Linked DNA regions of Homo sapiens: all the other regions are linked to region 2. The links are contacts of gene promoters, found by promoter capture Hi-C in blood cells and fetal thymus (Javierre and others, 2016). All regions are on one chromosome and are shown on one strand. The core of a region is centred on a gene start or on the middle of the fragment in contact, and the rest is flanking DNA. Distances in the headings are between cores, read along the strand shown.

Evidence for each region. The method cuts DNA at HindIII sites, captures the fragments that hold promoters and counts their contacts. A CHiCAGO score of 5 or more calls a contact.
Region 1: a fragment that was not itself captured here is called in contact with the fragment with the promoter of ARAP2 in region 2 in 3 of 17 cell types (non-activated CD4 T cells, total CD8 T cells and total CD4 T cells); the score reaches 10.0 in non-activated CD4 T cells.
Region 3: a fragment that was not itself captured here is called in contact with the fragment with the promoter of ARAP2 in region 2 in 1 of 17 cell types (M0 macrophages); the score reaches 6.1 in M0 macrophages.

What each region holds. Positions count from the first base shown.
Region 1 is chr4:26,885,186-26,889,898 of GRCh38, reverse strand. The region is part of intron 1 of STIM2 (stromal interaction molecule 2); the gene reads right to left. Among named protein-coding and RNA genes, the nearest start is that of STIM2, 27 kb to the right of the region's middle. The HindIII fragment of the contact is 871 bases long and covers 2,828-3,698 here.
Region 2 is chr4:36,242,314-36,246,814 of GRCh38, reverse strand. ARAP2 (ArfGAP with RhoGAP domain, ankyrin repeat and PH domain 2) reads left to right here and starts at 2,301. Exons shown (of 33, transcript NM_015230.4): 1 at 2,301-2,636. It overlaps LOC439933 (a long non-coding RNA gene), which reads right to left and starts at 2,699. Exons shown (of 5, transcript NR_122079.1): 1 at 2,604-2,699; 2 at 1,505-1,643. RefSeq lists a silencer at 1,926-2,505. The HindIII fragment of the contact is 5,605 bases long and covers 1-3,438 here.
Region 3 is chr4:41,948,017-41,952,941 of GRCh38, reverse strand. TMEM33 (transmembrane protein 33) reads right to left here. Exons shown (of 7, transcript NM_018126.3): 6 at 3,557-3,640. Among named protein-coding and RNA genes, the nearest start is that of TMEM33, 15 kb to the right of the region's middle. The HindIII fragment of the contact is 888 bases long and covers 3,077-3,964 here.

The sequences.
Region 1 (4,713 bases), core at 2,014-4,513, 9.4 Mb after region 2:
TCTTTGGGCAAAAAATGTGAAGGAATCTGTGTCCCACGTGAATGCTGACCAAAAGGTGACCTCAGCAGAGCAGGATTTTAATAATCAAGTAGATAGAATAACTCATTCTGCAGATCCCAGCCAGCTTTTTTCCCTAGCCACTTCTGTCATGAACGAAGAGGCCATAGGAAGGAGGAAGGTGGCTCAGCAACATGAACTTCTATGTACCAAGGCCGACCTGGCTACAGGTGCTAATGAGGCCCAATCTGCCAGTTACAGAAACCAATAATGAGTCCCTGATATGGCACCGTTCCCCAGAGTGATCAGCCAACTATCTCATGAAAGGCTGATTATATTGGACCACTGCCATCATGAATGGGGCACTGTTTTGTTCTTATTACAACAGATACTCTAGATATGGATTTCTCTTCCCTGCATGCAAGCATTCTGCCAAACCCACAGAATGCCTTATCCACCATCTAGGTGCTTCACACAGCATTGCTTCTGATCAAGGAACACACTTTACAGCACATGAAGTGTAACAGTGGACCCATACTAATAAAATTCACTGGTCTTACCATGTTCCTCATCATCCTGAAGCAGCTGGCTTAATAGAATGGTAGAATGGATTTTTGAAGACTCAGTTACGTTGTCAGCAAGGTGACAAAAACTTGTGCAATGTTTTCCATGAGGCTATGTATGCTCTAAATCAGCATCCAATGTATGGTGCTATTTCTCCCATGGCCAGGATTCATGGATCCCAGAATCCAGAGAGAGAAATAAGAGTGGGGCCACTCACTATTATCCCTATTGTTTCACTAGCGAAATTTTTGTTGCCTATTCTTTAACCTTATCCTCTGCTGGTCTAGAGGCCTTATTTCCAAAAAGAGGACTGTTTCCACTGGGAGATAGAATGATTCCACTGAACCGACATTAAGACTACCACCTGGCCACTTTGAACTCCTCATGCCTCAGAATGAACAGGCAAAGAAGACCCAGGGTTAGTGTACTGACCAGGGTTGCTGGTTACTAAGAAGAAATTCAACTGCTACCATACAATGGAGGTATGAAAGACTAAGTCCAGAATACGAGAGATCTTGTAATTACTTTCACGCTCTGTGATTAAAAGACTAAGTCCGGAATACAAGAGATCTTGTAATTACTGCCATGCTCTGTGATTAAAGTCAATGGAAAACTACAATAACCCAATTTAAGGACTACTTAAATTGGGTATGCCCAGACCCTTCAGGAACAAAGTTTTGGATCACCCCAACAGGCAAAGAACCACAAAGAGCTAAGGTGCTTGCTAAGGGAAAGGGAAAAATGGAATGGATAGTGCAAGAAGGTAATCATAAACAAAAACCAGCTACGACCATGTGACCAGCCACAGAAAACTGTAACTGTTATGTCTTATTTTGTAACGAATGTATTCAAATATTTAGCAAATATCTTTGTTTTCTTGCTCTTTAATCCCTTTATCATCTGACATAAGATATATTAATAATAGCTAACTTTACATCATGATATTTAAGTTATAGCTTATTAGGGAGAATGAACATTACCCAGGGACTCCGCATCCTCTTCTGGGGAAAGGGTTGGCATGTTTTCAGTTGTTTGAAGGATATTCATATTATGTTAGGCAGAAGTATGACTTTGTTATTGCGTTCATTTGGAGATTAAGTATCATTTAAGAAGATGTGTATGGGCGCCAAGTTGACAAGGATGGACTATGACAGTTTTATGTATCAACTTGTCTAAACTATAGTATCCAGTTATTCAATCAAACACTAACCTGGGTGCTACTGTGATGGTATTTTGTAAACACAGTTAACATCTACAATCAGTTGACTTTAAGCAAAGGAAATTATTCTTGGAAATGTGGGTGGGCCTGATCCAATCAGCAGGAAAGCCTTTTCTGAGAAAGAAATATTCTGCCCCACGACTGCAGCATCATCGCCTGCCCAAGAGTTTCCAATCTGCCAGCCTATCCTATGGATTTTGGATTTGGATTTGGATCTTTTCAATTACCTCAGCCAATTCCTTGAAATAAGTCTCTATGTTTTACCTATGTCTATCTATGTAGATATGTAGATACATGTATAAAACAATTAATTATTTTAAGTTACATCTTTGAGTATTTTAAGTGCAACTAAATAATTGGTAATATAATTACAGATATGCACTATATAAAATTATATTATTAATTTGTAATAATGAACATATACATTCATTCCTTCTGGTTCTATTTCTGTACAGAACCCTAATACAGGGTCTTTTAAAACATTAAGAGAAAAAATAGCCACTCTTTGCTTCAAAGGATACATCTAGAACCCAAAGAAAGTACTGAAAGATTTTAGTTTAATGCAACAAAGAACTTCTCACAAACCAGAACTGCCTACTAATGGAAAAGTTGTTCAGGAGCAATAAGTTCCCAACCACCCAAAGTATCTGAGGAGCTAATGAATGACAGTCTATAAGGGATACACCGGAGAAGTTCCTGTAATTAGCAGACAGTTTGAGCTTTAGGCTTTGTCCACTTCCTTGAGTTCAATCAAAGTCTGTAATTCTGTAACAGCACGGTGTGATCTTAGATTATTAGCAAGATACATCTTAACCCAAGTAGAAAATGAAAGCAACATCAAACAAAACAGTAAAGAAAAAAAGCTCAAATAAATTCTAAGTTTTAAAGGGATCACGGACAAGGCAAGAGGCAAAAAAAAAAAAAAAAAAAAAAAAGTTTAATTATTTGGTTTGGTGCTTATTGTATCTTGTAACATTCAGCAGTTGAACACTACGGGTTGTTCCAATTTCCTAGCTCTTTAAATTATATCCTATAAAGGCATAAGCTTTTATGTCTTTACTTCACAATAAAGTTCATATAACAATGAACTTGATTTTCAGGACAACAGAACAGAAGGGCTTTCACTGTATTTAGCATCCACATATAGCTCCACCTATACCACCTATTACCACCTCCATAGCTAACAAGGGAGCTCTAGCACTTTCTCTCCCCGGACAAAAGCCTACTAATTGGTCTCCCTGCTCTAAGACTAGACCTTCTAGAGTGTCATTTCAGTGAAAGAGCTGAAGTGATCATTTCCAAACATAAATCAAATCATGTCACACTTCTCAAAAACCCTGCAGTAGCTCCCCATCTCAGAGTACATGACATACAATGACAATGTCCTCACATCTTGTAGATGATGTCTACAAGACTGTACATTCTAGCCCAGACAACCTCTCTGATCTATCTATTACTCTCTCCATTGCTTACTCTACACCAGCCCTGTGGTCTCCTGGAAGTTTCTCCAAAAATCCAACAATGGTATCCATCAGGGCCCATGCACATGCCATTCTCTCCACCTGAAGGGTCTCATCCCTCTGTCTCTCCCTTCTCTCTTGTCAAATGTCAACTATGAAGATTTCCCTGACCACCTTAAATAACAGCAAACACACATATACTTTCCCTAACATTCTCTACCTTCTCACCTATTTTATTTTCCTTCATTGCATTTATCATCTCCTGATAAATATTTGTCTACTTGTTAACTGTCTTATCCTCAGTGAAATTAAGCTCATCGTTTTCTTCATTGCTCCAATACCTACAACAATATCTGTAAGTGTTCAATGAGTATATATTGAAATAATATATTAGCCTTAAGCTAAAATTTCAAACAATCTTCTCAGTTATATGAATATGCTCCTACACAGAAAAAGCTTTAAGAAGGAAAAAGTTCATATACTGTCCTAGTTCTCCTTGCATCCTTCTCACTGATTTGGTTTTACAGAGAATATGAAAGTAAATGTTCTGCCCGTCACAGTTCTCCTCTGTTCCACTGAACCTCAAATTATGAGCTCACATAGCCACAACTTCCTTGTTTGTCAAATAAGAGGAACTGGCGCATGGTGATCAGCTTCTTAAAACTCAAGTATCTAAAAATCAGATTTAAAATAAGGTTTATATGTAATTTTCAATAAGCCATAATGGAATGTCTCAGTAATTAGGATAAATCAACACTGCATATTTACATGAATAGACATATACATATATATATATATATATATATATATATATATATATATATATATATATATATAACCTGAGGTGCTAAATTTGGCTTCATTCTCATAATACAACTAGCACTGAATGCTATATTTTCAGTTTTACTGCTCTTATAAACTACATAGCCTGGTAACCAAGGTAAACAATTTGTATATCTGAAAGTTACATTCTGAATTCACCCAGGCAAAACATAAACCTGAAAAAATAGTCAGAAATGAAAACTATGTCACAAATATCACACATTAAAATCCTACATGCTTTAGTTAAAGGAGGATCCTTCATACCATCAAGATTTACAATTCAAGCCTTGATACCCCTATTTTCCAGTCTTAGCAGATACCAAAAAATAAAATGACAGCTGTCCAGTAAATAAGCTGATACAATCATATGCTGATGACTCCATTTATTCACATTCAAAAATAGGGAAGCAAATCTATGGTATTAAAGTAAGGACAGTGGTTAACCTTAGGCAAAGGCACATACTGATTTCAAGAGGACATGAAGGACTTCTGGGTAAAGGCAACATTATGTTTCTCGATCTGGGTGCTAATAACATGTGAGTATTCACTTTGTTAAAAATGGTTGAAATGAGCTGTATACTGATGATTTGAGCCCTTTCCTGTACTGTTATACTGTATTTAAGTAAAAAGCTTTTGGAAAACTAGATATTA
Region 2 (4,501 bases), core at 1,052-3,551:
GAGTCTGGTGACTATCGATCAATTAATAAAAGATAGCTTTTGCCGTATTTCCTCAGACATTTTTATTTTCCTCCATATATTAAGATTCATTAAACCAGAATACATCTTATAACTAATGTATACATTCAATAAGTGAGCATTGTTCTTCTTTATTTCCCAGGGCTATTATGAAGTCATTGTTGTACCTTGTAGCATTTACCTTTATTTCCCCTCAGAAAACATAAATCCAGAGATTGCATTGTATTTGCTAAACACTGTATTTTCAAAATGCCAAACAGTGATTAATAATTTTTAAAGAATAAATGACTGAATAATAATCAAAGAACTAAGATATTTTTGCGAAGAGGGAGAGAGACAATTTCTCAATTAGTTTATAAAATCTACCAAGCGAAGTAACTTGAGGACAAAGCAATGATTGAACCTCCCACACATAAGATAACTGATCTAATAATTTTTATTTATAACCCACCTTGTTTAGAGAAGGACCGAAGATGGCTTACAATGATAAAAATAGAGCCAGGCATGGTGGCTCACGCCTGTAATCTCAGCACTTCTGGAGGCCAACGCAGGCGAATCACTTGAGGCCATGAGTTTCAGACCACCCTGGCCAACATGGTGAAACCCTGCCTCTACTAAAAACACGAAAATTAGCTAGGCGTGGTGGTGCATGCCTGTAATCCCAGCTACTCAGGAGGCTGAGGCGGGAGAATGGCTTGAACCCAGGAGGCGGAGGCTGCAGTGAGCTGAGATCGCGCCACTGCTCTCCACGCTCCAGCCTGGGCGATACAGCGGGGCTCAGTCGAAAACAAAAACAAAAACAAAAAAGAGAGAGATAAAAAAAAAGAGAGAAGTATGTGAGAATTTGGAGAGGGAAAAGGGAAAAAGAACAAAAGAAACACACACACACAGAGAATGAAGCCAGAAAAGAGCCACATAAATAAAATTCCTCCTATAAATGCTATAGGAATCCAGAGAAAAAGTTCCCGTGGTTTGGAAAATGTCAATAAAACTTTCCTGGTGGAAATGAGGTCGGCTATGAGGTATTAAGTTCAAAAGGAACTGGATATTTGGTGTCTCTAGTAAGACAGAGCTGCTTCAGAGTCTCCCCAGGGAAAGACGGTGCTTTGGGCAGGTAGTTAGTGTGGGTGAAGGTGATGACTGAAGAATCCTAAGGGCCCAGGCTTGTGGGAAGCCTCTCTCTTTCCGCACTTCACCAATTATCTCATTTTCATAAGGTCTGCGCTTTCCTTAATTGCTTCACTTCCATCAACAGGAACAGGGGAAAGATAAATACATTTCACCTTTTAATGAAGAGAATTTCAGGTAGTCTGTGGGAGATGTTTATAAAAAAAAAAAAAAAAGCTGGTAGGGGGCAGTGTCTCACGCCTGTAATCCCAGCACTTTGGGAGGCCGAGGCAGGTGGATCACTTGAGGTCAGGAGTTTGAGACCAGCCTGGGCAACAAGGCGAAACTCCGTCTATACCAAAAATACAAAAAAAATTACCTTGGCTGATGGTGCGCGCCTGTAATCCCAGCTACCTGGGAGGCTGACGTGGGAGGATAGCTTGGACCCAGAGGCGGAGGCGCAATGAGCTGAGATTGCCTCACTACACTCCAGCCTGGGTGACAAAGTGAGACCCTGTCTAAAAAAAAAAAAAAAAAGTAGTTGGTCTGTGAACTCACTTGCAAATAACTGGATTTTACGGACGCTTAGATATTTGGAGGTCCACAAGGGTTCTTTGGGATCCCCTATTTTCCTTCGCTGCCTCCTTTGTCAGAGTCCAACTCAAAGGGGAAATGCCCCTCTGGGATCTAACCGCCACAGGTGCAAGAAGGAGCAAATTTACATAGAAGCAGCCTGGGGAAAATAGTGCCCTAGATGAGTCTTCAGTTTGGGAAACGCTGAGCTAACACTTTAAGTACTTGGAAGAGTAATACTAATAATCAGTCGTGGCGAGGTTCCGCCCATTTGACATTCAACCCCCCATGAGTGCGCACAGACAAACCCACTGGCCAGGAGGAGCCAACACAAGGTCCTGGGCATCTCCGTCCCGGGAAGGTGGGTAATGCCCCTGTCGCTCTGGGCTCCAGGGCGCGCCCCCGCAGCTTCCCCAGCGGGGTCTGACGCCTCCGGGCCGAGGTGCGCCAGGTGGCGAGGGTGCCAGGCGCGGCCAAGTCGCGGCGGTCTGAGTCAGTCACCCAACTATGCTGCGGAACCAGGGAGGCCGGCTGGGCCGCCCCCGCCGTTGAGCTCCGGCTTCCCCCGCGCGGGGCGCCTGCTCCCCGCCCCCGCGGGCGGAGAGGAAGCGGCGGCCGAGGCGAGGCGCGGGAGCACCTGAGCAAGGCGCGGGCGCCGGGCTCGGCGTTTCCGGAGCTGAGCGCGGGTCCGCGGCCCGCGCTCCCCGCCTCCAGGTGCGGCGGCCGCGACACGCCGGCCCCACTAACAGCGCCGCCCGCGCGGCCGCCGCCAGGCAGCAGAGGCGACTGCGGACAGCCGGCGGGGACCGGGAAAGAGGAGGCCTGGCGCCTCCGGCAGAGGGGCGAGGACCGAGCGCCCAAGGCTGGGAGAGACGCCGGCGCTGAGCTTCCCAGCGCCGCCTCACCTCGCTTTTCGAACTCCGCGACCCGAGCGCAAGGCGAGTACCCGGGGCCTCGGGAAGGCTGGGCCGGGATGGCCCACGCGGGGGTGGGAGGACCCTGTCTGGAGGGGCTGGGGCTTTTCGACACTTCACCGGGTAAATTTCCTCAGCGCAAAGTGCTCGGCTCTGGTGTCCGCCCCTTGGATTTCGCTCCCGCGTGTGGGCGTCTGAAAGGAAACCAGAAGCCGGTAAGTGATCCAAGAACTCCACTTCTGGGATTTGACCCGGGAGGGTGAGGATCCGGATAGACAGCTGGACACTCCCTCCATTCCTCTCCCCTACCTTTAAATAAGAAGAAGCTGTAGTGAGTTTCAGGCACCAAGTTATTTACTCGGTAGAGATCATGAATTTGCCCGGGTGTCTGTGCTGCCCCGCACCCTGCTTGTTAACCACGTTAAGACGACTGGCCTGTTAATTAACTTTAATTACGATCATTTGGCTTCCACCTGCCTGAACCCGATACCTTACACGGGAACCTGTATGATGTGAGTTTACCAGATTGATCTTTCTTGTTTACTTTTGGAGACAGTTCTCTTGGGAGAAGTGGTGTCCATCCTATTTAATAAAGTAAGTTTTACTTTATCTAATTCTGGCTTGTTTTCTTAAACACCTCCTACCTTGAGGTGATCTGGAGTTATTTTGATTTGGGGAAAGGGTTCGTGGATTATATAGCCTTTGATAATTAGAGGAAAACACAAGAAAATAAGCTAATTTGTGTGGAATAATGACATCTTAGGGTGTTGTAAGTAGGTATCCTGATAGCAAATTCTTTTTTTTTTTTTTTTTTTTTTTGCAAGCTTGTCCTTGAAGTAGGCTGTTCAGTAGAATACAGCCTTCGGTTTAAAAAAAATCAAGAAGTGTATTGAAAATAAGCTATTTTTAAAAGTACATTTAATAGGATGTCATTGTTATTACTCATAATAGTATTGTACTTACAAGCTCAGTATTGATTTATCTGCACTTAAGCACTCTACACCCCCACAGGCCCATGGAACTTTGCCCGTAAGTAATTGGAAGATAAAAAGCAAGCTAACTTTTTTTAAGGAAAAAAAGAGAAATACCTTTAAACTCTTTTTTTTTTAACTCTTATTTATGACTTCCATACACTTACAGGAGAAATATTGAGAGAAAATACTCATGACATTTTTTGTCCAACAACGTTTAAAGAAGAAAAAAAAGTGGGTCATGGAACTAGGCTAGGGTTAAGTGCAAATATCTTCCTGGCTTCTTTCTAAACATATTTAACACATACACATTTAAGGTGGTTCCTAACACGAAGAGGGTTTTATATAGATTTGTCAGTACTCAAAGATTTATTTGAATTAAAATGTACCTAGAGGGTAAGTGAGAGAGCTTGTTAAAACGTATTTATATGGGTGTGTGCTTGTGTTTGTATTTTTTCCTTCGTCTGTAAACCTGTCAGATTTTATGTGGCTTGTCTGTAAAAGGAGAAGCTGATGGTACGTTTAAAAACAAATTCTTGTTTTTCTAATATCACTGCAAGCTCCTTGCAGTGTAAGGCTCATGGATATGCAATAATATCAGATCCAACTATTCTTGGATACTGTGGAGAAGTATAGAACTCAGATTATAATGAATTACAGTTTTCTTAAGAACTTTAACGCATTGAAACTATGAAGTTTTAAAGTCTACGTAGAATTCTGGGTTATAGACTTCATGATATATGAGAAGTTTTTTGTTGTTGTTGTTGTTTCGTTTTGTTACTTTCTAACCCACCTCCCTGCAACTGTGAGAAAGTTTGGTGAAAGTGACTATAAAAATGCTAAGTATAAATAATAGTCATTGCTTTAATAGTTTTCTTTTAGCATACATTTCCACCTGTCCTCATTTATTTATTGATA
Region 3 (4,925 bases), core at 2,271-4,770, 5.7 Mb before region 2:
GTGTTTTTTATATATTTTAAAATATATAACATGGACAGTTATATTTATTCACCCACTATTTCCTTAAATGTACATATTGTCCCTCAGAGATTTCCTCTTCTGTAAAATAATTCTGAGTTGTGGTGAAATTTAAATGCAATATGGAAGATGCTCAATAAATGTTACTTCCCAGTTGGATCAATACACTGAACTATGACTCTTTTATGCCTTCCGACTAAAGCCCAAGTACTCGGTGTCACACCCAATACCCTCCACAATCTAGTCTCAATCTAATTTTCTGCCCCATCTCCTGCCACTCCCTGCCCTCGCTCCTATCATCAACTTATGTTGCATGTTTGTGCCCAAAACCATGTGGGCTTTGCCTATGTCTTAACTGTGCTCACTGCCTACAAAGTATTATTACATACTGTAGATATCACATATATTATACAGGCTAGTATACACAAAATCATGTATACTGTACTGACATTTATAAGTGATATGAAGGATCATCAAGGGTAATTTTAACCATTCACAATTTTCACCTTATGTGCTGACTCATCCTGTATAAAGATGCAACTACTATTCTACCTTTTTGTGTCCTGTTTTACTTCTATGGTTAGAAAAAAAGCAACAAATCTACTTTTCTAAACAAGTATTTAATATGCTTGCACAGAAAGACAGGAATAATAATATTTGGAGTAATGCATAATTTTCCAAAACCTGCCCTTCCTGTATCTCCTGTCTTCGTGAGAGCACCATTACAACTCTTAGGCTTCCAAGCCAGAAACCTGTGGGTCTTTAATTTACTCTTTTCTCTCAAGCCCTAATATCCTATCTCCTAATACCTTTCATATTTGTCCCCTTTTCCTTTTACCACTGGATTAATTCAGGCTCTAGACTACTCTAATAGTCTCCAAATTGATATTTTTCTTCTCTTGCTGAGCTTGCAATCCATTTTCTGGAATATTTCTAAATCAGATTTCATCATGGGGGTTCCCAGCCTCTCTATGTTACAATCTTCAAAGGCTCTCCTTACCTCAAAATAAAATCCAAACCCTTTCATGATCTAGTCCTTTCTACCATCTACCTTTGTGGACACAGATATTTATCAATTCTCTATATACTTCCTGAGCTCAAGTATGCTAAGCACTTTTCAGGCACCCATGTGTCAGAACTCAGGCTCATTCTTTAAAAGACTTGGCTTATGTTCCCACCTCCTCAGTGAATTCTTATTTGTCTCTGTCTGTTCTCTATGCTTTCAGAGCACCTTCATCATCACACTGACTTACATAGCTGTCTAATTTATTCAGCAGTGAGTACCTCTGAAAGAAGATATTTTAATTCCACATAAGTTCATCAACATACAATCACTGTTTTAACCAATCAGTCAAATGAATAAAGCTAGAAGACATGAGGACTAATGAAGTCAATCGCTTTCACTAAAGTCACATAGTTCTTTTATTACTGGCTGCATCGCTGGCACAGACCAAGTCAGAGTTCCTTAACAGCACGGACAACAGAACTTTGAACAATGATAAAATTTTTGCATATCTGTGCTGAAGGACCAGTCAGAGAGTTCCTTAATAGCACTGACAACAGAACTTTGAGTAATGACAAAATTTTTGCATATGTGTGCTGACCCACAGTTGCCATCAGCAACACATGGCTTTTGAGTACCCACCTGAACTGTGCTCAAAAGGAACCAAGTTCTAAGTTTTATGAATTTTATTTAAAGGTCAAATGTGGTTGCTGTGCTGTACTGGACAGCACAGCTATAGACAATCTGCACTAGAGATCCAAAAACAACTGAAACCACCAACTTGAGAATAAATATCGTAGGTGAAAATGGTACAAATTGTGAATAGAGATGGTCTCAAAACCTTTAATTAAAAAAAGTGTAGTACTGAAAATGTAGTTTTATAGCCTGTTTATCAATATTTACAAGCTGAAATATTTTCCATTACCTTTCCACTGGTTTGGTTAAAATGGGTGCTTATAAGACAGCTTTGAAGATGTTTACCAGCACATATTTGTGTTATCTTGATTCACTGCTATCCTTTCCTTTTCAGTCCACTGAAAACTGAATTCTAGATGTACTAATATGATTTAAGGGTATGTGAAGAAAATGGGAATGGAGAAGGAGGCACAAAGAAGCACAGAAAAACAAATATGCTGATTAAAATAACAGATGTCAGGGCAAGAGAATATAAGATAATGTCTGAAATGAATATAGGGACCAGAAAGAAAAAAGGCTAAAACTCAAGAAATCAAGTAAAAATGAATGTTAATTTGCTACTAGAGACTCACTAAGAACGAATGTCTAAAATAAGTTCTATTTTAGAAAGTATTATAAAAAAGACATTGTCTAATAGAGCATAAAAACGCTCTGAACAGAAAATCAGATCATAGAATAATGAAAATGAACTAGTAAGAACATAACAGTCTAAGTACTTTTAAAATATTACTTCGCTTCACCCCCAGAAGGAGTTATTTCCTCTACCAATGAAGAAATCCAAATAAATAACCTGCCTAGTCACACAACTAGTTAATGATGGGCCAGCATTCAAATTCAAGTTCTTTTTACTGTACTTATGAAAATATACAGATTGCTGTAATGCACTCATTGGATTTCTAGCTGAATTCTACATTATTTTAAACTTAAAAATAGATTATCTTAATATTAGTATTTGAGTATCATTTTAGTTTTACTCCAATGCTTGAGATCAGAATGCATAATTTAGTGTATATTAATTTAAGCCTCCATTCCTGAAAACTACAGTAATTCCCTAAAATTTCTCTGCTTCCCCATTTTTCTGCTTCAAACTCTTCTGGCACAAGGGTATCAGAAGAATATTCTGACGATGTCAAAACCATCATTCCCATTCACCTAAAAGATAAATTCCAAACTTCTTACCCTAAAACTCAAGAAGTTTTATAATATAGCTCCAATATACCTTTCTAATCTTAGCTCCAGCAATTAGCCATTCAGAATCTCCATTAGAGTCAAAACAGCTCTACATAAAGTTCCTCAAATATGGCTTGTGCTTCTCGTCTCTCTTGCCCCACCTAAAATGCTTTTCCCTATTCAAAAGCTTTACTCCTCCCACAATCTCAATTTTGTGAAACCTTCCTGGGCTCATCTATCTTCTGGCCCAATGATCTCTCCCTTCTGTGGACTGCAGTACTGATATAATAAAGCAAACATATGGCATTCATTATCTATTGGCTTGTGAATTCTGTATCCTAACCATTGTTTATCTAATTGACACGTGTTTTGTTTCTTCAACTAGGAAAGTTGAGAGTGGAATCTATGTCTTATACATTTTAAAATTTGCTAAGTTTTAGCAGTGCTTTAGAGGTGGCGTAGATAACTGCAGTCTCAGTTTCTAAGAACAAATACAACCACTTCCTCACCAACCCCAGTACATTCTAAGGCCTAGAACTTAAATTTACAAAAACACTGCTTGCTTCTAAAGTCTAACACATTAGCTAAGTAACTCTTAAGAATTGCGAATACTATATATTCACAATACTCTCAACAAATAAAACATGCCTAAAATAATCATCAGCTTACCGACAATATGGGTTTCTTCGAGACGAATATCGAAGGGTAAGAAATCTATAGTATATAAAAGGTTGGAGCAAACTTCCTTGACCACTGAAATAAACAAATACAAGCGTGATAAATATACATTTCAATTCATGTGTATACTCTCAAAACTTAAAAGCAATTCAACTGGAGAATATGTGTATCTTCATTCATCAAATGGTCATAGTGAAATCTATCATGTCTAAATCCAAGTTATCCTTAAAAAAGGATATAAAAGAATGTACATGATTGGTAAAGAGTAAAATGTTGTTTAATTTTTTTATAAATGTATTCTTATCTGTATTACTTTTGAAATTTTTTAAAATACTAAATAAATCAGAAAATGTTAAATAATTCCGTAATTACTAATTGATGAAATCAAGTTGTAAAGCTTCATAAAATATGCAAATGAAAAGTGACTTATTTTATATATATAAAAAGAAACAAACACTCCCCTCCACCAAAAAAATTACACTGGCTCATCAGTAAATCTAAACAGCCTATACTAATTATTGTTCTTGGTTAAAAAACACAATTACAATATCCCAAGAATTATATATATGTTTATGAAATACCAGGTCTGGAATTCTTCCCTAAGAAAAACTATCTGAATTAAGACATTCACTGAAATAACTACAAACAAAATGTGGCAACAACCTAATGTGAACTGTAAGGAAGTAGAATTGAACAACTTATATTATGGTTATTTAATGGATTTAATATGCAACTACCTAGAATCTTGGTTATGAAAATTACATAGCAACTCTGAAAAAAGCAGAATATAAAACTACACATATTATTACAATTGTATTTTTTTAAATTGGAAGAAATATATTAAGATGCCAAATGTGTTTTATTAGGTTTTTTAGCCTTTTCTTCTAAATTGTATCATTTTCATTAAAAAAAATTTACACGATTACGAACTTACCACTAAACAAATGCAACATCCATTTTCCCTAATAATTTGACAAATTTTTATCTTTTTAAAGTGAAAATGTAAGAGACACAACATAGAAAATATAAATAGAAAATATTCACTTAAAAAACAAGTTTCCCATCATCCAAGTTAGCCCCTTCCTCAAACTTATACCACAATCTCGAATATGTCCTTCCAGAAATGTATATATACAAGTGTATATAATGACTAACATTGATAGTGCTCACTTTATAATTCACTAAATCTGTTTAACAACTCTAGGACAGAGATGGTTTATCATTCCCAAAAAACTGAGACAGAAACGTCTATGTCCTTACACACATACACCCCACTAAATATAAATGGAGAACACCCTACACAACTAAGTTTAACTTATTATATCTTGGTGATTATCCCATATCACAACACATAAATTAC